6 separate regions of the Homo sapiens genome follow, and regions 1, 2, 3, 5 and 6 are each linked to region 4. The links are contacts of gene promoters, found by promoter capture Hi-C in blood cells and fetal thymus (Javierre and others, 2016). All regions are on one chromosome and are shown on one strand. The core of a region is centred on a gene start or on the middle of the fragment in contact, and the rest is flanking DNA. Distances in the headings are between cores, read along the strand shown.

The links. Contacts are between HindIII fragments. The CHiCAGO score rates a contact against its expected background, and 5 or more counts as called.
Region 1: a contact is called between the fragment with the promoter of UBE2B here and the fragment with the promoter of HSPA4 in region 4, in 2 of 17 cell types (fetal thymus and non-activated CD4 T cells). The highest score is 8.0, in fetal thymus.
Region 2: a contact is called between a fragment that was not itself captured here and the fragment with the promoter of HSPA4 in region 4, in 1 of 17 cell types (fetal thymus). The highest score is 7.3, in fetal thymus.
Region 3: the fragment with the promoter of DDX46 here is called in contact with the fragment with the promoter of HSPA4 in region 4 in 2 of 17 cell types (total CD8 T cells and naive CD8 T cells); the score reaches 8.0 in total CD8 T cells.
Region 5: a contact is called between the fragment with the promoter of PPP2CA here and the fragment with the promoter of HSPA4 in region 4, in 1 of 17 cell types (fetal thymus). The highest score is 6.4, in fetal thymus.
Region 6: a fragment that was not itself captured here is called in contact with the fragment with the promoter of HSPA4 in region 4 in 1 of 17 cell types (monocytes); the score reaches 5.4 in monocytes.

Annotation. Positions count from the first base shown.
Region 1 is chr5:134,370,292-134,372,991 of GRCh38, forward strand. UBE2B (ubiquitin conjugating enzyme E2 B) reads left to right here and starts at 1,278. Exons shown (of 6, transcript NM_003337.4): 1 at 1,278-1,348. The coding sequence starts at 1,305. It also overlaps a transcript of CDKL3 not described here. RefSeq lists enhancers at 397-992, 501-570, 1,511-1,610 and a silencer at 1,041-1,090. The HindIII fragment of the contact is 3,578 bases long and covers 1-1,507 here.
Region 2 is chr5:134,845,034-134,847,733 of GRCh38, forward strand. C5orf24 (chromosome 5 open reading frame 24) reads left to right here and starts at 935. Exons shown (of 2, transcript NM_001135586.1): 1 at 935-1,179. RefSeq lists an enhancer at 646-1,381 and silencers at 901-1,280, 1,311-1,360. The HindIII fragment of the contact is 1,128 bases long and covers 841-1,968 here.
Region 3 is chr5:134,757,449-134,760,148 of GRCh38, forward strand. DDX46 (DEAD-box helicase 46) reads left to right here and starts at 1,331. Exons shown (of 23, transcript NM_001300860.2): 1 at 1,331-1,507. The coding sequence starts at 1,491. RefSeq lists an enhancer at 1,106-1,595. The HindIII fragment of the contact is 1,728 bases long and covers 596-2,323 here.
Region 4 is chr5:133,050,703-133,053,402 of GRCh38, forward strand. HSPA4 (heat shock protein family A (Hsp70) member 4) reads left to right here and starts at 1,311. Exons shown (of 19, transcript NM_002154.4): 1 at 1,311-1,655. The coding sequence starts at 1,549. RefSeq lists enhancers at 598-1,560, 747-796, 867-916, 1,107-1,286, 2,525-2,700. The HindIII fragment of the contact is 9,846 bases long and covers 523-2,700 here.
Region 5 is chr5:134,224,703-134,227,402 of GRCh38, forward strand. PPP2CA (protein phosphatase 2 catalytic subunit alpha) reads right to left here and starts at 1,371. Exons shown (of 7, transcript NM_002715.4): 1 at 1,058-1,371. The coding sequence starts at 1,159. It overlaps MIR3661 (microRNA 3661), which reads left to right and starts at 1,055; the gene lies at 1,055-1,150. PPP2CA-DT (PPP2CA divergent transcript) reads left to right here and starts at 1,708. Exons shown (of 1, transcript NR_186539.1): 1 at 1,708-2,700. RefSeq lists enhancers at 661-770, 1,110-1,629, 1,630-2,151, 2,151-2,310, 2,152-2,671. The HindIII fragment of the contact is 2,287 bases long and covers 294-2,580 here.
Region 6 is chr5:134,630,021-134,632,720 of GRCh38, forward strand. All of the region lies in intron 1 of SAR1B (secretion associated Ras related GTPase 1B), which reads right to left. Among named protein-coding and RNA genes, the nearest start is that of SAR1B, 1.5 kb to the right of the region's middle. RefSeq lists silencers at 2,520-2,629, 2,680-2,700. The HindIII fragment of the contact is 918 bases long and covers 815-1,732 here.

The DNA of each region.
Region 1 (2,700 bases), core at 28-2,527, 1.3 Mb after region 4:
ACGGTGACCACAGAAAATATTCAAGGTCTTTGGGAGGTCAACACCTCTGAACCCCCTGGTGGTGGGGGGCCCTTCTGGCCCATTTGCACCTTTCTTGCTAGTGTAGAAAACCTGAAGTTATCTCAGGCTAGATATATAACCCTCACTCATGTCTGCCGGAGCTCTCCCCCAGAATATGAATCATATTTGTAGGTTTCTTTGACAACCAACCACTCATTGATATGCTTGGAAGACTGCACCCCCACATTCCTTAAAAATACAATGGTACTCCCCCACCATAGGCAAGTCCCCGGACTCTGACACATATCTTCAATTGAAAGCAGACCCAGAAAGGAAAAACTGCATAATACACCATCCTTTAATATTTGCCCAGAATTTCCAATACTAGAAACCCCACTGCAAAGCAGAAAGACTATCTGGTAGCTTCAAGGAACCATTTCAGGAGATTGTTGTGTGGGCCTCAGTATTCAAGGCTGCCTTAGAAGATCGTGCGATCCTCTCACTCTTCTTGCCCCAAGTACCAGAGTTAATAAGCCACTGAACCAACCAGAGGGGAATTATTTTTGGTCCCGGTTTAAAGAAAACAAAACAAGCTGTTGATTCTGCCATGACCTCTTGGGTAATGTTGTCTCTATACCTGTGATAAACAGAAAACAACTAATAAAGGTTTATCCCGCCCTCACCCTCTTAAACCCGCTTCACAGACCTGGCTGAAACTCACATCCAGGCGAGGCGCTCACGTGACCCGTTCTAAACGCGTCATAGGGACACGTGGTTCTAGATACTTCTCCCCCTCCCACTCAGGGGTGGATTGTTGACAAGGCCGCGGGCAGTCACGTGATCTTACATCATCCCACCTCCTTTCCCTGAAATCTCTGGCCCGGATGCGTCCCTCTTTCTCCACCCCGCCGAGCCTAAACTAGTGACGGGGAGGGAGACGGGATAGTGTTTCTGTTTCGTGGTCTTTGAATCCACAACCTCTAGTCTGAACACAGAGAACACAAATTTGTCTATTACTTCAGGAAGCCCAGGGGGAACCGCGCCCCGCTGAAGGGCTCGGGGAAGGCGCGCTCCCGCGTCCCGCCCCCTCCTCCCCCAGCACTCACACTGTGGTAGCGGCGGAGGGCGGAGGGATCCGGAGGCGGCGGAGGGAGACGTCATTGCAGGGTTGTTTGTCAGTCTCGGCGGCGGCGGCGGCGGCGGCGGCGGCGGCGATCCACAGTGATTCGGCCGCCGCGCCGGGGGGTGGGGGGGCTGCGCGGGACTTTTTTTTTTTCAGACTGACCGCGGGGCAGCTGCGGAGCATGTCGACCCCGGCCCGGAGGAGGCTCATGCGGGATTTCAAGCGGTAAGGGCCTTCACCTTCGCCTAGATGACGGCCCCTCAAAGCTGCGGGGCTGCAGGGCGTGGATCCCAGACACCTTCCCCTTTGTGACCCTCAGAGGGCCGGCTGTGGGCCCAGCGGGACTGGCGGAAGCCGGGTCCTAGCCTCGGCCCTACTCCCATAAGCTTTGCCGCTCGTTCTGGCGCCCGAAGAAATTTTGATACTGCTTCCCCTCCCCACAAAAAGTAAAACGGTGTCGATCGACTGGTCTAGGGTTCCCTGCTGCCCATTTCGGCCAGCTGCCCGGCGTCTCGCCCAGGCGATCAGACATTATCCGCCCGCCCCTGCACCCTGCGGCGCCCCCTTCTTGTCCCCTCAAAGTGAGCTCCTGCGGGAGCTTGTTCCTCTCCGGCAGCACCAGTCAGCTTTGTTTCACGGCCCCGCCGTCTTCTCCGAGGAGCCGTGTTGGGGCGAACCCCTCTCCCGACTCCTGCCAATCCTTTCCATTTGTGCCCTGAGGGTGGGGTCCAGTGCGTGAGGCCCGGAGGTTAACCCATCCCCCGAAACCCGACTCTGTCCCCGCCCGCCTGAAAGGACCTTGGGAACTGACTTAGAGATCTGGGACCTTAGAGCTGGCCACCCCGGCTGCCAGTGCTTTCTGGAACTCAGCTCTGGCTGGTGAAGAAAGCCCCTATCTATAGCCTCCCGAGTCTGGAAAAATGCCTTCCCTTAGACTGGCGCTAATCTGATACTCCCTGGGCCTCCTTTGGTAAATAAAATAGGGTTTTGTTAGGAGGTATTGGGGTTGTGAGATAGAAAATGATTATTCCGTTGTTTACCTTTTATTGGATACTTAGAGACATAGAAAAAATAAGTGAGAAAACATCATTTTGATACTCTGCACATTTTTCTTAACATTTTTTCTGGGGACACCTGCCCTAATTGAACAAAATATCTAGCATAAAAACTTAGATTTGTCGCTCAGGAAGTCACCTCTCAGCTATTATAAAGCCTATGTGAGGCACTTGGATTTGGCCAACTTATTTAATTCATTCGTAGCTTCTCTTAGCCATTTAAAGGTAGGCGTCAAGCAGTGCAGTTCTTCTAAGGCTTCTGTTCGTGGTGGCCTAATTTGCTTGAGATTGACTAAAAACCATTTTTTTAATGTGGACTAGTTGCAAATTATGATGCCCCATGAAAAACAACTGCATATGTATTTGTGTGTGTATATAATGTAGCATTTTTAATTGAGGTTACAGTCTCTGAAAGGAGATGCCCTTTTTGGTGCAAAAGTCATCTTTCTAAAGCTTGAAATCAGCGTATTTGATTAGCACTCATGACAAATTCAGATAGTAAACTAGTTCATGTCATTGTCG
Region 2 (2,700 bases), core at 155-2,654, 1.8 Mb after region 4:
GCTGTCCAGAGTTTTTATTGGTGTAGGTTTGATCAACTGTTCACATGGCTTATCTGTCTCCAGTCCCTCAGTAGTTTGAATGAATGGGCTTGCTTGTTTCGTGTGTTGTGTCCTGGCTTGTGTGTTTGTCCAGAAAAGTTGTTTCTCCTCCTTTCTTTCCTACTGGCAGGGCAGTACCTGGCTCAGGGCTGTGCTTATGGTAGAACTCAGTTCTATGAATTGTCCATCCTCAAATATCCTTCATTACATGGGGGAAAAGGGCAAGCATCCTCCTCTAGCCTCTTCCCACTGCTTAATAAAGTGTCTCCCTTTCAGTAGCTGCCCTAATTCTGGATCCTCTCCATTCTGACATCTGGAAATTCACAGGAGGAAGGAGTGAGGAAATGAATCCCTTCTAAGTGGGTTTGTGTGAGGTGACTGATATGTCAGATATCTCACAAGAAAAACATAATAGCGGTAGTTTGTTGTTCCATCCTTTCCTGTGATTATGGAATAATGAATGCGACAATTCCTGGGGCGTGGTGGCTTACGCCTGTAATCTGCGTGGATCATAGGATGTCCCATAAAATAAAGCTTTTCATTATCACATGATCCTGGGCATGAAGAGTCCCAACTCCCCTGACTATCATTTATTTGTCCTGTATCTAAGAAATGGGGTCAGCAGGAGTTCCAGCATCTCAGAATTGTGGTGAAAACCAATACAAGTAAGGAAGTTATTAATTCCCCATTTGGTGGGTTCCTCAACCCCAGCCACTGGGGACGGTCCACGCCGGATCACCAGCAGCTCAGGCTTAAGGCCACGACGCGCAAGCGCAGCCTGCCAGCCTGGCTCCCTCCCAAAGCTTGCGTGCAGGTTGGCGGCGGGAGATCGGGTCTCGCGATGCGAGTGAGCGTGTGCGTGCGCGGCCCTCGCGAGCTCGCGCACGCCGCCTCTAACACTACAGGGTGGTAGCGGCCTCTTCGTACTGCGTCCGGGGCAGGACCGTGCGCGGCGGCCGCGGCGGGTGCTGGGAGCCAGCGCCTGCCTCGCCGCCGCCCTCGCTGCCTGCCACTCCGTCTTGGCCCGTTCTCCGCACCGTGCAGAGGCGGCGGGCTGGGGAGGGAGCGGCGCCAGCACGAGGTTCCCAGCCGCTGGGAAGCCCCTAGACGCGCCGAGGGGCCGGGCTACGAGCGGCTGAGGTAGGTAGGGGTGCGCGGGCTGGTCAGCCGGCCGGGAGCGGGGTAGGGCGGCGGCGAGAACGGGCGCCTCGCTGACCGGGGAGAAGAGGCCTCCTGCCAAGGGGCCCTAGTGTAGCCGGAGTGAGAGGAGGGGCCCCGGACGTAGCCTGCTCTTCCCCGGTGTGGAGCCATTACGGGGGGACATTCCTCCTGCGGCGGGGGGAGGGAGCCCCCTTTCTTTTCTTTGAGAGGTCAGAATCCGCAGTCCGCCCTTCGCCTTTAAATAAAAGCCTGCCGGCTCGAGATCGGCGTCGCGATGGAGTGCCCGTGGACTTCTACGCTTGCGGAACTCCGAGTGGACGGATAGCGGCTTATGAATTTTGCTTTTTAGAGGGTACACAACCCTTTCTCTAGGGTGGCGTGCATCTTCTGCAAACTTGTTATTGCCAATACGCTAATAGTCGCTTTCAGCACACAACAGGTAATACATTCTAAACGCCTCGTGTCAAAATAAGGAGAGTCCTTATTTGTGCACCGTGGGGCACAGTTAAGGAGCAGGAAGAAGACAAAGGAGGCCGTTATTTATGTGCCGTCCTATTATCAAAACTTTCCGTGGTGGGGCAGGGTGCGTGGCTATTGGCCTCTGCTGAATGGACTTTCAGAGTGATTGAGGTGAGTTGCAAATCTTCATTTAGAATTATGAAACGTATATGATTATACATAATAGTTAGTCAAATGACCTGAAATAAATCTCTGAGAATTACGTGATCTTTGATCTTTGGAGAACAGAACTTGGGTTTCTTGAAAGGAAGCTTTCTCCATGTTTAGAAAGCTTCAGGGATGCTTTGTGAAGTTACTAAAAATAGTTACATTTCTTTATGTTGGCAGTAATGACTGCCACATTCAAGAGAAGAGAAAGGAATTGTTCTATAAAGAACGGCTCATTTTAGGGGTTAAACTTTAGGAGTTAAACACAATAAAACAACTTCAAGGATGGTAAGTTTTAGCTTATGCTTTAAGTATTCGAATTTAGTCACAGTCCAAATATATAGAAGCTCTTAGTTGACTCCTGTACATTCAGGGAACTATTTATTGGTTGTTTTTGTTTGTTTTGTTTTTTTTGAAACGGAGTCTCACTCTGTCCCCCAGGCTGGAGTACAGTGGCGCGATCGCGGCTCACTGCAACCTCTGCCTCCCGGGTTCAAGCAATTCTCCTGCCTCAGCCTCCCAAGTAGCTGGGATTATAGGCATGCGCCACCACACCCAGCTAATTTTTGTATTTTTAGTAAAGATGGTGTTTAACCATGTTGACCAGGCTGGTCTCGAACTGCTGACCTCGTGATCCACCCTTCTCAACCTCCCAAAGTGCTGGGATTACAGGCGTGAGCCACTGCACCCGGCTTCAGTAACTATTTAAAAAGATGATCTTTAACCTTTGATAGTCTACACAACCTGTTCTATAACTCTTGGCTTCTATTCAGTCCACGCTGTCTGGAAATGTAGTATTCATCCTATTTTTTTTTTTTTTTTCCTGAGATGGAG
Region 3 (2,700 bases), core at 81-2,580, 1.7 Mb after region 4:
TGCACTCCAGCCTGGGCAACAAAAGCGAAACTCCGTCTCAAAAAAAAAAAACAAAAAAAATTCAACATTTCTGTGTGTGTTGCATGAGACAATACATATACATTTTTTTGGTGCCCAAACTCTCGAATAATGTTCTCAATCTTGACTGTACTTCAGAATTACCTGGGAAGCTTAAAAATTCCCAGTGCACAAGAAGCACTCCAGGCCAATTAAATCAGAACATAGGGGTGGAACCCAGGCTTCTATTTTATTTACTAATATTTTAGAGATGAGATTTCTCTGTGCTACCCAGGCTGGAGTCATCATAGCTCACTGCAGCCTCAAACTCCTGGGCTCAAGTAATCTTCTTGCCTCAGCCTCCCTGGCTCAAATGATCCTCTCACCTCAGCCTCCCAAGTAGCTAGAACCACAGGCGTGCCAGCACACCTGGCTAATTATTTTGCTTATTTTTTGTAGAGGGTCTCGCTATGTTGCCCAGGTAGGTCTTGAATTCCTGGGCTCAAGCCATCCTCCTGCCTCGGCCTCCCAAAGTGCTGGGATTATAGGCATGAGCCACCATGGCTGGCCCTTTTTTTGTTTTTTTGTTTTATTTTTAAGCTTCCCAGTGCAAGCAATGTTGAGAACTAATCTTTTGCCAAAGTATTTTTAGCTCTTTGTTCTCTACTAGGTTAACACCTACCGGGTCTTCAAATCTCACCTCAGAGTTCACTTCCAAGGGAAACGTGTTTTCTGAATCCGTCTCCAATGGTGGACTCTCCTTGCTGTATTACTTCTGCTTGTGTTTTTAGTCAAGTCTATTATTATTACTATTTTCTTTGCAGAGACGAGGGCTACGTTGCCCAGGTCTTGAATTCCTGGGCTCAATAGATCCTCCCGCCTCAGCCTCCCAAAGTGCTGGGATTTCAGGCGTGAGCCACTGTGCTGGCTTTAGTCATCTGTTTCCCGGATAGACTGTGAGCTCCCCAGGATCTAGCACAAGCCTGGCATATGACAACATAAATAAATGAGTGAATGTATACATGAATAAAGAGCGTGTACGGAGAAAGTTGCCGCATTATTTAGCGCAAATTAAGGCAGACATCAGCCTGCCCAGGACGCCTCTTTGGCTCTGGCGCGAAACACCCTCACGGGCCGGCGAGGCTGACGCGCTGCGCTCCATCGCACTAATCAGCCGGGCGTGGTGCGGGCGCCGGGAAGACTGGGCGGGGCGAAGGCATCACCTTTCGATGGGGCCGGCGCTGTGCGTCCTCCAGTCGAGGTGGGGCGCTGTGGAAGAGCGGCAGCTTCCGGTCGGCTTTTCTCTTCCTTCGGCTGCCGGCGCCAGCACGTCCTGTTTTCGTTGGCCGCGCTGGGATGGCCGCCACAGCTGTAGGTGCTGCTAGTGTTTAGCGCTGGTCTTTGCCGGGCGTTGAGGGCAGCTCAGCCTCCTTGTTTGTCCGGTTCGCCTGTGCGTGGTACTCAAGGGCACCAGTATTCCCGCGGTCGGCAGCATGGGTCGGGAGTCACGGTGAGGCAGAGCGCCGAGCGGGCTAGCGGGCGAGCGGCTTCTTGGGGTCGTGAGAAGAGGCGGGAGTTGAGGTGGCCGCCGGGCCAGGCCTGGCGCGGCCCCACGTGCGGTCAGCGCTGCCCCGCGAGCATTGGAAGGGCTGGGGGACCTCGGCTGAGGGAATGGTTGTGTTTGGGCCAGCGACGGCTTCCCCTGCACTACCATCAGAGGGTTCGAGCCCCTGGAGCGGGAACAACCCTCCAGGACGTTAGTGATTGGGCACCACATCCCGCCACTTCAAGGGAGCCTGCCCTGATTACTTCAGTCAGAAGTGATCCCAGTTGGATTGCTTATTGCTTCGCGTTTCCAACATTTCCTCGACTCCTGTCATTCTGTATTTTAGTTCTTTGTGCGCGTATGATCTTTTCCCAAGTTACTTGAAAGGAGCGTGTGGGCAGACATTTTTACCGCATCGACAGCACTATACACGACTAGGCTTTTACTGGGCTACAATAAATACTTGTTGCGTGGGCATTTACTTCGCAAATAGATTTCGTATTTAAGCAGGTAACTTTGTTACCTGCTTTTCTGTCCTTTTGAAGTTGTGGACTATGAGCTCTTATTAGAACTCATTAGATCTCATCACAACTTTAGATTGTTGATAGATTGTTAGGAACCTTGAGATTTTTATGTTAAAAATGACTATTTGCTATGTATTTAGCAATGACTGAAAGATATTTTATGTCTAGGAACAATGAAGGCTTTTGTTGTTAGTGCTAACAGTTCTTTGTTGAGGTACAATTAACAATCAGGGAAATGGACAAAACGTAAGGGTAAAGCTTGATGAAATTTAGCAAATATATAAACCGTGTAATCATCACCTGGATGAAGATAAAAAATATTTCTTTAACTACAGAAAATTCCTGTGACGGTGTTTTAAATCTCCGGAAGGCTGTCCAGACCAGAAATCTGAAAGTGATATTTATTTGACTCATTCTTCTCTCTCACTACCCACAGCCTGTTAGATTCTACATCCTTTGCCCATTCTGGTTGTCCCTGACTTAATTGAGGCCCTAATTATTTATTGTCCAGACTACTACATCTGTTTTAAATTGATTCTCTGAATTGATTGTCTTCCTCTGTTGCTCTCCTAATTGTTAGATCCCTTACACTACAGCCAGAGTGACACTTCTGAAGTAGAGATAAGATGATGG
Region 4 (2,700 bases), core at 61-2,560:
AATGTAATTTCTTCTTTGCTCATTCACTTTTAAAATGGCTGAAGGGCAGGTACTCTAGCCTTGAGACCTTCAACTCATGATGTACCCTCCAGCAACGGAGAATTTCTTTTTAGTCCTTAAACTATGGTCTCTATTGCTAGTTTTCCAAACTTGAACACAGCCTTTTCCTTTTCTGGGAAGTTGTCCTAGTCTCCACCATTCTGTGCATATAGCACTCGCCATTCTGTACTGGGGTCACCTTTACTTGTTTAGCCACCCTCATGATGGGGATGATCCAGGTTTTGCAGAGGTGAAACTTATATACCATTGGGGGGCCCTACAAATACACAAAACAAATAATTAAAACGACAAATCACAACACATTACTAGAGACTTGGAGATTCAGATTCTCCTTAGATCTCTCTGGGTAATTTATTAGAAATGCTTACATAGATTTGCTTCCTAATCTCAAGCTGGCTTCCCCTCTCCACAACTCAGCAACTATCTATTCTCCCAGGAGGCCATACAAGCGAGGGGCCCTGAAGCTTAACATTTATTAACTTCATGTAAAGGTCTGAGCGGACCTTTCAGGCCAGGCAGCGTGTCACTTGCCTGTGTTCCTTGTTAGGGCCTACCACCGGGTAGGTGCTTGGAATGTGCTGTGGATTAAAGGCTTAAATCCTGCGGGCCCCTCAATCTGATCTAAGGACATGAGTGGCTTAGAGAACGGCGCAACAAGGCTAAGCGAAAGAAAACAAAGCGGTGTGGCTGGGAGTGGGCTCCTTCCCTCCGCTGGTGAGGGTGCGATCTTAGACTCTTGAGAGAACCCGACATAAAGGCCGCGTTCCAATGGCGGCCTTCTCCCCTACCGGCCAACCTGCCCCGAAAAGAGCAGAAGGCACCCTGCGGGATCTGCAGATCAGCTTGCGTCTCATTCTGGGGCACCGACACGGTGGAATGCAAGACACCCCACTACCGGAAGTTTCTTTGATGTTAAGAAAAACGGCGGAAGTAGGCCGCAGCGCTTCCTCAGTATAGTGCCTCGAGCTGGCTCGCCTACTTTCTACGGTAAAGGGAGGTGCTCCACATCTCTATGCAGCTGTGCAGCGCCGCAGGTTCCATGCGCAGGCTCGGTTGGCTAAATGCGCTTTCCAGCCATCTTTCAGCCACCCAGTCCTTTCCCAGGTTCTCGAGCCAGGACGTGACGTATTCAGACGTACTGGGGGCGGGGCCTCAAGGGGAAAAGCGCCTGAGCCGGGATATCGCGAGAACATCCCGTTCTTTCGTAGCTCTGGTGCTGCGGCTCCGCTCTCGTCGCAACGAGATCTTTCGAGATCTTCTCCGCCCCCGCTACCGGCGCCTCCTCTGCGGCCACTGAGCCGGAGCCGGCCTGAGCAGCGCTCTCGGTTGCAGTACCCACTGGAAGGACTTAGGCGCTCGCGTGGACACCGCAAGCCCCTCAGTAGCCTCGGCCCAAGAGGCCTGCTTTCCACTCGCTAGCCCCGCCGGGGGTCCGTGTCCTGTCTCGGTGGCCGGACCCGGGCCCGAGCCCGAGCAGTAGCCGGCGCCATGTCGGTGGTGGGCATAGACCTGGGCTTCCAGAGCTGCTACGTCGCTGTGGCCCGCGCCGGCGGCATCGAGACTATCGCTAATGAGTATAGCGACCGCTGCACGCCGTAAGTGTGGGCCGGGCCTGCCGCGTGCACTGGGGTTAGGAGATAATGCTTGTTCCAGTCTGGGACCCTCGCTGCTTGGGGAACGCGGGCCGAGGAGTCGCCTCCGTTCCGAGCCGAGGTCCCGGTAGGTCAGGGACCCCCAGTAGGTATTAGGACACTAGGGGCCGCGGCCCACTATGAGCGTGGGTGTGTGCTAAGCGCGAGGGCCTTTTCCCCGGTGGCCCGTCGGCCGAAGAAAGGCTTCTGGCCGGTACTCGGACCAGCGGAGGGCACGGGTAGGAACTGGAAGGACTGCAGGCCTAGGATGTAAACGGATCGCGGTCCTTTTCTTGAGGGCAGAGACCAGGCCCAGGTCGTACTGAGTCTTTTGAGTCCAACAGAAAGCTCAGAACTTTGCACACAGCAGGCGCTTAATAATAGTTGAATCGAACGGGTTCTGGGGCTTGCCAGCCGCGAGACCGTGGAGCGGTCAGCGTCCCACGTGAGTGGGGGCGGGGCAGCGCCCGGAAGAGAGCGAGCTGGAGCAGCCTCAGGCACGGGTTCCGGATGGACTCGGGGTCTTGAGATTGGGTTGGCACGGATAGGAATTTAATAAAATCGGTGCTCTTATGATAACTTTGCAATCGCTTTTGTTTTCCACATTATTTCGGGATATTGTGCTATATTGGGTCACTCTCTGTTTTGTGCGCGTTAACCCCTCAATAGGGTTGCACTTTAACGATAATGCATTCTAACCAGTGTGTTGGCCACAATTGTTAGTGGCTCAAGGGCCCGCCTTGACTTCTAGAACCCATAGTAAGTTTTGGGACCAGCATAGACACAGTTCTAAAAAATGGTGGGTCACTCAGGTCTTTCACTGGTTACAGTGTCTGCCTTTTGAATACTTGTAGATACATTTTAATCCGTTGTCGTGTTCTTAGACAAAATCTTGTAAGAAGTTCTGTATTATTTGCCATTCAGGGTCTCTCTTCTTTTTTTTTTTTTTTTTTTCTTTTTTGAGACAGACAGGGTCTCACTCTGGCTGCCCAGGCTGGAGTGCAGTGGT
Region 5 (2,700 bases), core at 121-2,620, 1.2 Mb after region 4:
AATTAACTACCTGTTTCCCCAACCCCCAGGGGAAAACAAAAGGGAATTAGCTAATATAAAGTTTAGTGTTACTAAGTGGACTACAACATTCTATTTTCAGTGTATGTGAGACATTATTTAAACACTAAGCACAATGTCTGGAATACAATCTCAGTCGACAGTTATTATCACTACTACTACTTGCAGCCACAAAATACTATCAAGTAATTTTTGCAACAAAGATACAAAATTTACCGCTCTTCCATTTTATGTTGTTCATTTTAAAAATAAACGGCAAAATGCCAAGTGTGTTAAGCTTAGAGAAGGCTTTGAGTCAGCATATAAATCATATTCAACCGACACTTGATTTCCAATCCAAAAGCTCCTTATGTAGTATGACTCACCAAATTCCCGATTTCTTCCAACTATGAAAAATAAGTTACACTCCTCCCTTATAGCTACCACCATGACCTTCGTAAAAATTAGGTTAAGAGAATAATTTAAAAATTCTTAAAGACACCCCTTACCTTGATTTCTGGAGAAGATCGCTTGGTGAGTTTAATACAAACCACCAAGGGGTACTAAAGCTGTGTGACCTTTAGGTATGTTCTGGGATACGGCCTAACAAGACTGCCTTTGGGGGATCCTCTGGGCAGCTCTGGACCTAACTAGGCCTGGGTACCAGCGGCAAGACTCTTACTCAGCCCACCGGAGAGGCCCAGGCTCCATTCCCAAGCCGCAGAATCCAAGCCAGCTCACCCTCAAAACCGTCCCTGACGATGACCCACAGGGTCTCCGCTCCCCCTGCCACCTCGTCTGGCGCCAAGGCCGGCTGACTCAAAAGCCCAGGAGTCGAGTGAACGGCGCCATTTTAGGCGGCGGCGGCAACCAATCCCTGCGCGGGAGGCAGGGGGCGCCGGGTCGTTAGGAAGCCGCCGCCGGCCAGGATGGGCGCCGGTCTCGGAGACTCGGGGGGCCCGGACCGGCGGCCTCCGCCATGTTGCACCCTCCTCACGGCCGCCTTTTCCTCGGCGGGCTCGGCCCCGCGGCGGCTGTCCGCAGCCGTACTACAGCTCACCTTCTCGCAGAGGCTCTTGACCTGGGACTCGGACAGCTGCTTGCACTCGTTCAGCTGCTCGATCCACTGGTCCAGCTCCTTGGTGAACACCTTCTCGTCCATGATGCCACCCGCCCCAGCCGGCTGCCGCTCCGCGCTGCTCCCGCGCCGCCGCCCGCACACGGGCCTACACGCACACGCCGCCGCCGGTTCCTCGTGTACTTCTGGCGGCTGTTGAGGCTGGCGCTGGCCCGCTGGCTCTCACCGCAGTACTCGGCCGTCGGCCGCTGCGCCTCCTCCTCCGCTCGCTGAGGCTCCAGAGCTCGGCTCTCTGTAATGGCGGCCGCCGGGCGTGGTGACGTCACGCCCGGCGTCAGGAGGCGGCGGGGAGCGGAGGGGAAAAGGGCCGGGGAGCAAGCTGCGCAACTGCAGAGCCCTCCCCGGGCGGCCGCACGACCGGAGTTGGGGCGCAAACTGGGGGTCAAAGCGCAGGCGCGACGTAGCCGGCTGGTAACTGAAGCGCCTTGACTTTTTGGGCGTGGCTCCCGGAGGGCGGGGTGGTGGGGGAAGGGAAGGATGGAGCTGGAGCATGCGCAGTGCGCACAGCGGCGAACCGGACTAATCCCTGAGCACTATTCCAGGAGAGGCGAGGGCTTGGGCCGCGCGCAGGCGCAGACCGGATGGAAGCCGGGGCCACTGGCAGCCTGTAACTGGTTCCCCTGGGAAGGCCGCTCTGGTGATGAACTCAGCTCCTCACCTGGGGCCTGGCAGTCCGATCACGGAAACGAGAATTGCGACCCCGTGGCTCATCTGGGGTGCTGCGGCTCTGTAATCGTGTGGGTTTCCGTCATCTTTGGGGGCAGGAACGGGCAGCGAGTGGCCGCTTGGATTAACCACCCCCACCTCTGGGCGCGGCTGGCACCTTGTAATTAGGTCACTCGTAGGTGGAGGAGCGTGTACCTACCGGGGGAGTGCTGCGCAGTGCACCTGACTTCCGCGGCACACACCCGTCCCCGGACCTAGGTGTCTCGTCGGGCGCGATGGCGGGGGCGAGGCTTGGGCTTTTCTTTGGGCCTCGGACCGCGGCTCGCTTCCACGCGCCCCGCTCCTCGCCGGTGGTTGCTTTCCTCCAAGTTTAATTCTCTCTGGGAATGAGAGACCCTCAACCCCTGCGCGCCCTGGCCTACTTTCAAGAGGGGAAGCCCAGAGAAGATGGATGCACCTGTCCTGACCGCGTCTCGGTGGCGTGAGAAGCAGCTGTGATACGTGCTTAAAAGAGAGAGCTCGTATACCCTAGGATTGGACCTCTGTCTGGTTATGAATCGCTTTGGAGTTTGCGAAACGTTTTCACATTCCATTGTCCCTGCTTTTACATAAATATCTGGTTCCATAGAGCGCCAGCTATATGCCAGATCCGGAGGGGTCATCCAGACGGACCAGGGACCATGCCCTGGAGCTTGTATTCTCCCAACAGTACTGGCTGAAGATGGTTTGGGATAGGCAGAAGAGAGATCATAATGCCCCCAGGATTTGAAAGATATAGAAGCTTTCCAAAGAACATTTAACCATAAAGGGCAAGGCAAGAGCTGAACCTGATCGCCTGTCTTCCAGGAACCCCACCCTCAGTATCAGGCAACCCTTCCACACCCAAGTGCTCAGCGATG
Region 6 (2,700 bases), core at 24-2,523, 1.6 Mb after region 4:
AGGAGGCCAAGGCAGGCAGATCACTTGAGGTCAGGAGTTCGAGACCAGCCTGGCCAACATAGTGAAACCCCGAGTTGGGATGAGTATTTAAAGTGAGCGAGCGTAGAAATACTATGCTCAGCCAAGTGAGTACTTAACGAAATGAGTGTAGAAGGCTGGGGGAGGTGGCTCACGCCTGTAATCCCAGCACTTTGGGAGGCTGAGGGGGGCGGATCACCTGAGGTTGGGAGTTCGAGACCAGCCTGACCAAAAAGGAAAAATCTTGTTTCTACTAAAAATACAAGATTAGCTGAGTGTGGTGGTGTATGCCTGTAATCCCAGCTACTCGGGAGGCTGAGGCAGGAGAATCGCTTGAACCCAGGAGGCAGAGGTTGCAGTGAGCTGGAGATCACGCCATTGCACTCCAGCCTGGGCAACAAGAGCGAAACTCTATCTCAAAAAAAAAAAAAAAAAAAAAAGTAAGTGTAGAAATACACCTATAGCAGGACACAGTGGCTCACGCCTGTAATCCAAGCACTTTAGGAGGCCAAGCCGGACAGATCACTTGAGTTCGGGAGTTCAAGACCAGCCTGGCCAACATGGTGAAACCCCATCTCTACTAAAAATACAAAAATCAGCAGGATGTGGTGGTGCATGCCTGTAATCCTAGCTACTTGAGAGGCTGAGGCAGGAGAATCACTTGAACCCTGGAGGTGGAGGTTGCAGTCAGCCTGGAGCCACTGCACTCCAGCCTGGGCGATAGAGCGAGACTCCGTCTCAAAAAAAAAAAAAAAGAAAAAAGAAAAGAAATACTAATATAGCATTCCAACTTGTAAGCTTCAAATGATGTGGCAATGATTTTCATTTCCTTTTCTATTTCTTTTTTTTTCTTTTTTTTTTTTTTTTTTTTTTTTTTTTAGCAACAATGTCTTTTTCTTTCACCCAGGCTGGAGTGCAGTGGCATGATCACAGGTCACTGTAGTCTTGACCTGGCTTCAAGCAAACCCCCCATCTCAGCAGCGAGTAGCTGGGACTACTGGCCTGCTAGCCAGGGCCCTGCACCCAGCAAATTTTTTTTTTTTTAATGTAGAGACTGGGTCTTGCTATGTTGCCCAGGCTGATTTTCATTTCTGTTAGACTCATCTTTTTTCTTAATTCTTGCTTGAATTTCTATTCCAGTACAATAATGCAAGTCAAAGGAAGGTTAAAATATACCTTATTTAAACTGCTAATCTTTGTAATTACTGACAGTGCATCTCTGACATTTCTAAAATGAAGACACCTTCCTTTTCTACAAACTCAGAAAATGCCAATGAACTATCTTAACATTTTTTAAGTTCAAAACATTTTGGTGACAGACACAAGTCTACTGAAAGGTATAATAGTAGATAATCATGTTGCTTTGCTATACTGGCACCACCATTTATTTGTCATCTGTAAAATGACAGCTAGTGCCTTACTCATAGTAGTCAATAAATGTTCCTTTTCTTTCCTTCTTTCATTGTTTCAATGTGACCTACTCTTCACTGATACTTTAACACGGAATATAGGACGTCTTCAAAGACACTTAGTAATATAGAGGCTGATGTAAGAACACACAAATAAATAATACTATGTTTAATTTTTCAAGTTAAAAGGACTTCTTCACCTCATTTTGTCCACTGTACCAAACACCTTAAATTGCTGACGAATTTGGTTCTTTCAGCTAACAATGTCAAAGTTTTAGCTGTTTTAAAACAAATCTTCTTGGAAAAGCTTCAACACCTTAAAAATCAGTACAGTGGCCCACTGAGGTGGCTCATGCCTTTAATCCCAGCACTTTGGGAGGCCGAGGCGAGCAGATCACCTGAGGTCAGGAGTTGGAGACCAGACTGGCCAACATAGAGAAATCCCATCTCTACTAAAAATAGAAAAGTTAGACCGGATGCGGTGGCTCACGCCTATAATCCCAGCACTTTGGGAGGCCGAGGCAGGCGGATCACGAGGTCAGGAGATAAGAGACCATCCTGGCTAACACGGTGAAACCCCATCTCTACTAAAAAATACAAAAAAATTAGCGGTGCGTGGTGGCGGGCACCTGTAGTCCCAGCTACTCGGGAGGCTGAGGCAGGAGAATGGCGTGAACCCGGGAGGCGGAGCTTGCAGTAAGCCGAGATCGTGCCACTTCACTCCAGCCTGGGCGACAAGAGGGAAACTCTGTCTCAAAACAACAACAAAAATTTAAAAAATTAAAACAAAAATCAGTACAGTTTTCTCAACAGTGTATCTTTTTTCCACTTAACTGGGACTTTGGGCTACGGAAAACGTTAACCAGTACTAGTAAGGAAGCTCAATTTGCCTCTACACTAATTGGGAGCGCTGAAAACACCAGGCCGTGTCACAGCCTCTTCAGCTGTCAGTGAGACCCGCCACCTTCACCTTACCAGGTAAGGAAACTGAGGCCCAGGGGAAGGAAGGGGCTTGCCTGCAGCCACCTCGTTCTTTCCTGAAAAGACCAAGCGTCTGACAGCAGCAGTGTTCTGCCTCGAGGGCTATCAGACGGCCCCGCGGAGCATGGATGAGACCTGTCCTCCCTCGCGCCGCCTAACCCCGGGGTGAAAAACAGGCGCCCCTTCACGCAGTGCCACAGGCAGGGACTCAGAGTAGGTCTTGGCCCTAAAAGTGCGCCTTCTAGGGGATCCATAGCTGCTGCCCACCGGTCCTCCCAGAAGGAGGGGCTGT